Linked DNA regions of Homo sapiens: regions 2 and 3 are each linked to region 1. Evidence: promoter capture Hi-C in 16 types of primary human blood cells and fetal thymus (Javierre and others, 2016). All regions are on one chromosome and are shown on one strand. Each heading gives the region's core, a stretch centred on a gene start or on the middle of the fragment in contact. The rest is flanking DNA. Distances are from core to core; before and after follow the strand shown. Region 1 holds the start of CALHM3 (calcium homeostasis modulator 3). Region 2 holds the start of NEURL1-AS1 (NEURL1 antisense RNA 1). Region 3 overlaps PDCD11 (programmed cell death 11).

The links. The method cuts DNA at HindIII sites, captures the fragments that hold promoters and counts their contacts. A CHiCAGO score of 5 or more calls a contact.
Region 2: a contact is called between the fragment with the promoter of NEURL1-AS1 here and the fragment with the promoter of CALHM3 in region 1, in 2 of 17 cell types (neutrophils and erythroblasts). The highest score is 8.5, in neutrophils.
Region 3: a contact is called between a fragment that was not itself captured here and the fragment with the promoter of CALHM3 in region 1, in 1 of 17 cell types (M1 macrophages). The highest score is 5.9, in M1 macrophages.

The regions. Positions count from the first base shown.
Region 1 is chr10:103,477,824-103,480,607 of GRCh38, reverse strand. CALHM3 (calcium homeostasis modulator 3) reads left to right here and starts at 1,368. Exons shown (of 3, transcript NM_001129742.2): 1 at 1,368-1,862. The coding sequence starts at 1,576. It overlaps NEURL1-AS1 (NEURL1 antisense RNA 1), which reads left to right. Exons shown (of 4, transcript NR_120675.1): 4 at 611-1,005. The HindIII fragment of the contact is 14,732 bases long and covers 1-2,784 here.
Region 2 is chr10:103,516,039-103,518,738 of GRCh38, reverse strand. It overlaps NEURL1-AS1 (NEURL1 antisense RNA 1), which reads left to right and starts at 1,297. Exons shown (of 4, transcript NR_120675.1): 1 at 1,297-1,353. The region is part of intron 1 of NEURL1 (neuralized E3 ubiquitin protein ligase 1); the gene reads right to left. The HindIII fragment of the contact is 6,397 bases long and covers 667-2,700 here.
Region 3 is chr10:103,433,018-103,435,815 of GRCh38, reverse strand. PDCD11 (programmed cell death 11) reads right to left here. Exons shown (of 36, transcript NM_014976.2): 23 at 1,779-1,868; 24 at 1,466-1,568; 25 at 841-1,018. Among named protein-coding and RNA genes, the nearest start is that of CALHM2, 18 kb to the left of the region's middle. The HindIII fragment of the contact is 679 bases long and covers 1,010-1,688 here.

The sequences.
Region 1 (2,784 bases), core at 119-2,618:
TCCTGGCTTGAAGGGTTTCTCACCCCTGCCCCGCCCTCTCCTCCGCTCAGAGTCAGACTCACAGGGCCACTGGTGGCTCTCCCCATCTTCTCCAGTGCCTCATTTCCCTCACACAGGGAAATCTGTCTCATAGGACCTAGAGTAACGTACAAATATGGAAAATAAAAATACTAAGTGGCCAGGCTCAGTGGCTCATGCCTGTAATCCCAGCACTTTGGAAGGCCAAGGGGGCCAAATCACCTGAGGTCAGGAGTTCGAGACCGGCCTGACCAACATGGCAAAACCCCTGTCTCTACTAAAAATACAAAAATTAGCTGGGCGTGGTGGTGGGTGCCTGTAATCCCAGCTACTTGGAAGCTGAGGCAGGAGAATCACTTGAACCCGGGAGGCAGAGGCTGCAGTGAACCAAGATCGTGCCACTGCACTCCAGCCTGGGTGACAGAACAAGACTCTATCTCATAATAATAATAATAATAAGTAAGACCCAGGTTTCTGTCTGTCTTCATCAGAAGTACAGACCACACAGATGGTTACGAAATTTGCAAGACTTATTTGGGATGATCTGACTTACAATATGGGCCAAGTGACCTTTACAAAATTCGTTTTGCAGGTTTCAGGGGTCCCTCAAACATCTGGGCTGTCATCCTTCGGAGAGACTGGAACTGAGACACAAGGAGAGACCTAGTGATGTGGGAGAGTTAGGAGAAGAAGCAGTGATTTCAAACGCATGCCCCTCACACGGAAGAAGGGCAGGGGGAAAGCCATGCAGGTGTGGGCGTGGCACTTGAGCAGCCTCTCCCATGGGCACCCAGTGGTTAATGCACAATGTTTAGCACGTCGCCCAGGGAGGCCATCCCCTTCCGCTACCCCTTTCATGGCAAATGCTGAAACATCGTTGAAGACTCCTCTCAAGGGTCTCCTCTTCCAGGAAGCCTTCGGTCAGGAATAGGTGCCCCTTCTGGCTCCTCCTAGCCTGAAAGCCAACATGAAATCTCCCTGGGCTGAGCTGAGTCGTCATATTTTGTTGTTGTTGTTGCTGTTGTTTTACTATGCCTGTGAGACAAGTTCAGAGTCATGCTTTTGATCAAGACCAGAAAATATACTACCTTGGCTCCATCAGCATCTTTTCCTCACCACACCCAGAATTTGCCTGTCCCCCGAAGGAAGCTCCAACGGCTGTCAAGCCTGAGCATCCAGACCGTAAAGCAAAGAGAAATGGGCCGGGAGGAATGGAGTGACAGGGCGGGGCCCATTTGCCTAGAGGTGCTTTGGGCTGCCCGGTCACAGAGGGTGACTCACTCCCCCAGACAGGAGGGGAGTGGCACCAGGGGACCATTGGGCTGGGCAGGGGAGCCTTTGTGGTGAGAGCCTGTCCCTGCCTTAAGTGCCTACTGGATCCCGGGAGCCTGGGCTGGGGCCTGGGCACTGCTTCCTCCTTGGCCCCTCAGGCCCTTGGAAGCAGAGAGAGAACCTCTTGCAGATCCCAGGCTCGTCCCCAGCACAGCAGACACCAGGAAGGTGGCCAGAGCCTCACTGAGCCGAACCGACGGCCGCCCACCCACCCAGGCTGGAGCCATGGATAAATTCCGCATGCTCTTCCAGCACTTCCAGTCAAGCTCGGAGTCGGTGATGAATGGCATCTGCCTGCTGCTGGCTGCGGTCACCGTCAAGCTGTACTCCTCCTTTGACTTCAACTGTCCCTGCCTGGTGCACTACAATGCACTCTACGGCCTGGGCCTGCTGCTGACGCCCCCGCTCGCCCTGTTTCTCTGCGGCCTCCTCGCCAACCGGCAGTCTGTGGTGATGGTCGAGGAGTGGCGCCGGCCCGCAGGGCACCGGAGGAAGGACCCAGGCATCATCAGGTGCGGTCCCACACCACTCAGTGACCCATGAGCTTTGCCAGGGGCTCCCCAGCCACCCCACAGGCACTGTCAAGTGCACCCCCAGACCCCAACCATTCTCATTATCAGGGGATTCTCCACCCACCCTACAGGTACTGCCAGGTGCGCCCTCTCCTTTCCCCAACTAGGAATTATCGGCTCACAGAGAGCCACTTGCCAGTTTCCACTCTGGAAACATATTTCTGTTCCTATCGTTTGTCACCTTTCCGTGGCCAGTGCTGTAAACATAGGAATGACACAGGATTCCCAATTACCCAGGCCACTCTAGGGGCTGCGGGAAAACTTCCTCTTTGCCCTCTGAAGCTCTGCTGAAAATCAACTGACAAAAGGCAGATTAATAAGAGAAAAGGCATACAAATTTATTTGATTACCGTTTTATGTGCCACAGAACCTTCAGAATAAAGACCTAAAGATACAGAGGAAATGGTTCATTTTTATGCTTAGGTTCAACAAGGTTTGGATAGCCACGCAGAAATAGAATTGGATTAAAAAAGGGATGAACTGATGTTATAGACGGAGTGGGGAAACTCAGCAAGGCCATCTAGGTTCTTCTTGGCCTCTCTATACAGTGTTCCTTTCTCCCAGACACGGGGCAGGACCCTCTCTAGAAGGGAGTCTTATGATCTACAATGAAACTAGGTAGGTCAGATCATTTCTTTACGGCCAGTTTTCAGACAGAAAGGCGGGGGGAAATTAGAATCATATTTTTAGGTTTTATGGTGGCAGCTTTGGAGAAAAGGAGTTCTGGTTTCTATGACCCACCTTGGGGAAGATGGATTCTAGTTTCTATGGCTAGCCTTGGGGGAAAATAAGGAGCCAGAGATTGGGTGGGGGGGCCAGGCGCGGTGGCTCTCACCCGTAATCCCAGCACTTTGGGAGGTCG
Region 2 (2,700 bases), core at 48-2,547, 38 kb before region 1:
GGTAGATATCAAGGTATGGAACCACAGAATAGAGTTGTTCCCCAAGATACCTGCACTGCTCACTCCCTCACCTCCTGCAAATGCCATCAGGTCTTCTCTGGCCCAACCTATTCAAAGTGCTGTTCCCCAGACCCCCCAACTCATAATCCCTGTATCTGCCTCACTCATGGTTTCTTTCTCTCCAGGGCATTTTTCATCATCTGACATCCATATGTCATGTTTTTGGGTTTTAAAAATCTGTCTCTCTTCATAAGAATATAATTCCATGAGACAGAGGACTTGTTCCCTGCTGTATCCTAGTACTTAGAACAGTGCCTGGCACACAGTAGGCATTGACTAAATACTGGTTGAAAGAAAGGAATGAAAGAAAAGAGGGAGAGAGAGGGAGGGAAGGGAAGGGAGAGGAAGAGGGGGAAGGAAAAATGTAGCACTCTAAATGCAAACAGGCCCATACTATACATATTACACAATTTGCTCTTTTAATAATATAGTAGACTTTTTTTTTAAATCATGGTACCTCATTAATGTGTAAAGCTGCAAGGTATTCCTGTGAATAGACGTCATCATTTACTTAACCCACTGCTTCCTTCCTGAAACTGTGTGGGCAGTAAGTGGAGAAAGGGGCAAAATAAGGTACTCCCAGTCCATGGCTCTTGGCAATAAGCTTTCCCAAATTTCAGTCTAGGAAATTGACTGTTCATGGATCAGGGCATGCAAAGTTACCCTCAAGAGACATAAAGGATACCTGGCTGGAGGTGAAGAAAAGATGTGTTCATTGGATGCCAAAGATCGGTGAAAAGGGGATGTCACTGAGGCACACTGCGGTGAGGCCCACGGGAGCAGAGCCAGGGAGATGGTGGCCTGCCAGGCCCAAGTGTTGGGTCCTCCTGGCAGGCATTTCCCTGTTGGTGAAGTGGCCTGGGCAAGGCTCAGAGCCCATAGGCATTGAACTCTCAGACTGTGTTCTCAACTTGCCAGGCCTAGAGCAAGTTCACCCAGCACTCAAAGAGCTGCTGCAGGGGAGAAGGTGCCAGGAAGTCCATCTGACAGAAAATTTCTCTTTGGGAAACAGTACATTGACTTCTGATTTGACTCATGAACCTTTGTGGACTTGATTACAGACAGCCAGGGGCTTCCAGTCCTATCAACTCAGAGGAGACACAGAGGAGATGAAATTTGGGGCCAGCTCAGGCAAAGGCCAGATGTGGGCAGGAGAGGACTCACTACGGAAACCAGCCCCTCAGGCTGACCCACCTAGCTCCTAGCTCACAAAGCCATTGTGTTGAGTAAATGAGGTCAGAGCTGTGGGTCTTGGGGCTCAGGGCCTGGTACACAGTAGGAGGTCATTAAACAGTAGGTATTTCTTGTTTATTATTAGAAGTTTGAAGAAGGTGAGTAATGGTATAGGGCAGGTCACACAATGGTGACTCACACCTGTAATCCCAACACTTTGGGAGGCCAAGGCAGGAGGATCGCTTGAGCCTAGGAGTTCAAGACCAGCCTCAGCAATATAGTGAGACCTCATCTCTACAAAAAGTTTAAAAATCAACTGAGCGTGGTAGCACATGCTGGTAGTCCCAGCTACTCAGGAGGCTGAGGTGGGAGGATCCCTTGAGCCCAGGAGGTGGAGGCTGCAGTAAGACGAGATCACGCCACTGTACTCCAGCCTGGGTGACAGAGTAGGACCCTGTCTCAAAAAAGAAAAAAGAAAAGGGAGGGAGGGAGGGAGGAAGGATGGAGGGAAGGAAGGAAGAAAGGAAGGGAGGGAGGGAGGAAAAGGAAAGGAAATAAATCAGGAAGTGTAAGTATTCCAGGTTTTTCTTCCAAAGAAGGAAGGAAGGAAGGAAGAGAGGGAGGGAGGGAGGGAGGAAGGAAGAAAGGAGAAAGGAGAAAGGAAAGTAAATAAATCAGGAAGTGTAAGTCCTCCAGGTTTTTCTTTCTTCCAGAATCGTACTGGTTATTCCAGGTCCCCTGAGGAGGAATCTACATTTTTCCAAGCTCTCCAGGCAATTCGTAGGCCCTTAGAGAACCACTGCACTGTGCCATATCATACCTCTAAACTCTGCTCCCTTGGCCTCTCTGGCCCTCTGACCTTTCCTGATTCTCCTTGTACCTCTCCCACACCTTCTTCATGGTTTCATTCTGTCCACCCTGTGATATTTCAACCACTCTCATGGTTTAAGTGACACCCACTGCTGACAACTCATTGTGGCCCTGATCTCTCTTCTGAGATTCAAGCTCACACATGGAGTTGCCAACCCAGCGTCTCCCCCAGGATATCTCAGGGCTCTTCTGACACACCCTGGCCAAAACTCAACCTATCATCTTTCCCTCCAACCCCCGCCTTCTGCTTGGGGTCCTGATGGGATCACCATTCTCCCAGTCACCTGAAAACCTGGCACCAGGAATAATCTTGGATTATTCCCTCACTCTCACCGCCTGCATCATTCAGTTATCAGTGCTGCCAAACACAACCTTTTATTTTTTTCTTTTCTTTTTTTTTTTTTTTTTGAGATGGGGTCTCACTCTATCACCCAGGCTGGAGTGCAGTCGTGCAGTCTCAGCTCACTGCAACCTTCACCTCCCAGGCTCAAATGATCCTCCCACCTCAGCCTCCCAAGTAGCTGGGACTACAGGCGCACACCACCACACTCGGCTAATTTTTTATATTTTTGTAGAAATGGTGTTTTGCAATGTTGC
Region 3 (2,798 bases), core at 100-2,599, 45 kb after region 1:
AAGGGCCAGGCACCGTGGCTCATGCCTGTAATCCCACCACTTTGGGAGGCCAGGATGGGCAGATCACCTGAGGTCAGGAGTTCGAGACCAACCTGACCGACATGGCGAAACCTAGTCTCTACTAAAAGTACAAAAATTAGCCAGGCGTCATGGCGCATGCCTATAATCCTAGCTACTTGGGAGGCTGAGGCAGGAGAATTGCTTGAACTTGGGAGGAGACTGCAGTGAGCTGAGATCGCGCCACTGCACTCCAGCCTACGCACTGCACTCCAGCCAGACTGCCTCAGTTAAAAAAAGGCTGTGTCTCGCGCCACTGCACTCCAGACTCTGTCTCACGCCACTGCACTCCAGCCAGACTCTGTCTCAATTAAAAAAAAACAAAAAACCCAAATATATGTACAAAGATACTTCAACATTATTGTCTATCAAAAAAAGTATTGTCTATCAACAGAGAATTGGTTACACAAATTTCAATTAAAAAAACCCCAGAATACTAAACAAACGTTTTAAAATAAGGTAAAAGGACAAAATAGATTTTGATATATTAGCATAGAAAAGGAAAAAAATTCATGATAAACTATGAGAAAAAAACAGTATATCAAATGATATTCTATTATTTATATAAAGAAAAACTATATATATATGCATTAAAGTCTAGAAAGATAGAAATCAAAGTACATAATGGCAAAAAGTGGTAGAGAAACAGAGGGGTTACAGAAATTTTCATTTTCTATTTCATATACCTGTTTTTCTGATAAAAAGTCATGTATTACAACAACGTTTTTTTTTAAATATACCAATTCCACAGACAGGTGAAAAGAGGAAGAACACTTCGCTTACCTGACAACCTTCTGGGGGACGAAGTCTTCCAGGGGCGTCTCGGAGTAGGAGTCACTCATGTGAAATATACTGACTGTTCCTATCTTCCCAAAGGGGAAGGAGACGGTCAGCCCCTCGTTGGGAGTCACCTTCACCACTCGGCCCATGGCCACTTCCCCTTCCTCAAGCTTGTGAGGACCTGGTGGAAGAACCAACCTGATTCAGGGAAGAGGAAATGAGCTAAGGGAGGAGCGGGAATGCCAGCCACACACAGGCTGGGGAAGGTGGAGGCTGCCCAGACTTGGGGTATCTGGGCTGAGTGATCCAGAACCATCTAGACTGAGATCACCCTGCCATGTAGCCAAGGACCTCAGGGCCAAGTGGTGGACAACTCTTTCCCAGGGACTTGAGAAAAACACCTGTGTAGGTAAGGGTAACCTGTATAGGTAAAGGTAACTCAGAGAGCAGTGGAGTAACTGGGCCAGAGCAAAGCCCAAGAGAAAAACTGTTCCAAGAAGGTCCCACACCAGGCTTTCTGAGGATTCCAATACCGAAGGGGTCCTCCAACTCAAGCAATAGCTGAAAACCCATCCCACCCCTTCCTGCCGCTCCCCTTCCCCGACCAGGCACTGTTTCATCCCCACACCTGTGAGGGACAGACATAAGAGGGTCTTGGAGGAATCTGGGCCAACAACGGTGGCCCTCAGGGCCTGGCCAACCCGGAACTTCTTATCTGGATGCTTCAGAACCTGGAAGGATAAAAAAACTCCTGTGATGCTTGAAGAAAGGCTGTCATTTATCCAAAACCACAGCATTTAAGTCTCCAAAGCAAGTATCTCCCAAAGCAACCCTTAAATAAAGAACAAGCTTCCTCAAATCCACTGTAAACCCACACACCAGGCACTGGGCCAAGCTTAGGGAACTTGGGTCCCCTCTCCAGGGATCTCAAGCACACTGACCTTGAAGCTCAGAGAAGTGAGCAATAAGGGAATTCTCCCCCGGATGTCTGGGGCAATCTCCACCTCAAGCCATTTCTTCACCACATTGTACTGAGGGAAAAAAAGGAACCAGAGTAGGGCAAATACAAATACAAGGTTTCCCGCCATTAAAACTTTCCTAAAACCACAAGGTGGAAAGGGCCCCAGTACACTTTTCCAAGAGACAGGAATCCACCCTTCCATCCCACTGCCCTTGCCCAACCTCCACTTCTCACCAGCTTCCCTCAGACTCCAGCTCAGAACCTTTGCTAGCCTAGCAGAATGTGCATCTCTTCCAGGGTCTCAGCTGACCAGGAGGCAAAAGAGACTCCAGAGATGTCCTCAAACTGGAGAACCAATCCCACAGACCTCTGTAGCCTCCTCCAAGCTCAGCTGTGCCCAGCGATTGTTAACCATCTCCAGAGGCCAATTTTTAATTTCTAAACCAATTTGGATTTGGATCCTTCACTGTTTATGCAGTGTCTTGCCCTAAATATGCACTCCAATTTTCTCCTTTTTTTTTGAGACAGAGTCTCGCTCTGTCTCCTAGGCTGGAGTGTGTGGCGGCAATCTCGGCTCACTGCAATCTCCACCTCCTGGGTTCCAGTGATTCTCCTGCCTCAGCCTCCAGGGTAGCTGGGATTACAGGCGCGCACGCCCCAGGCCCGGCTAAATTTTTGTATTTTTAGTAGAGATGGGGTTTCACCATGTTGGCCAGGCTGGTCTCAAACTCCTGACCTGAAGTGATCTGCCCACCTCGGCCTCCCAAAGTGCTGGGATTACAGGCGTGAACCACCACACCTGGCCGTAAATACATACTCCAATTTTCTAGTCAACTTAACAAATCATTTATCGAGCAGCTACTATGCACATGGCATCATAATGATAAATAAAAGCCAGAGCCTGCCTTCAAGGAGATTACAGCCTACAAGCAGTAAGTCAAATCAGTGTGCAAATAACTACAACAGCAAGCAACATGTAGGAAGTACAACATGCTACAGG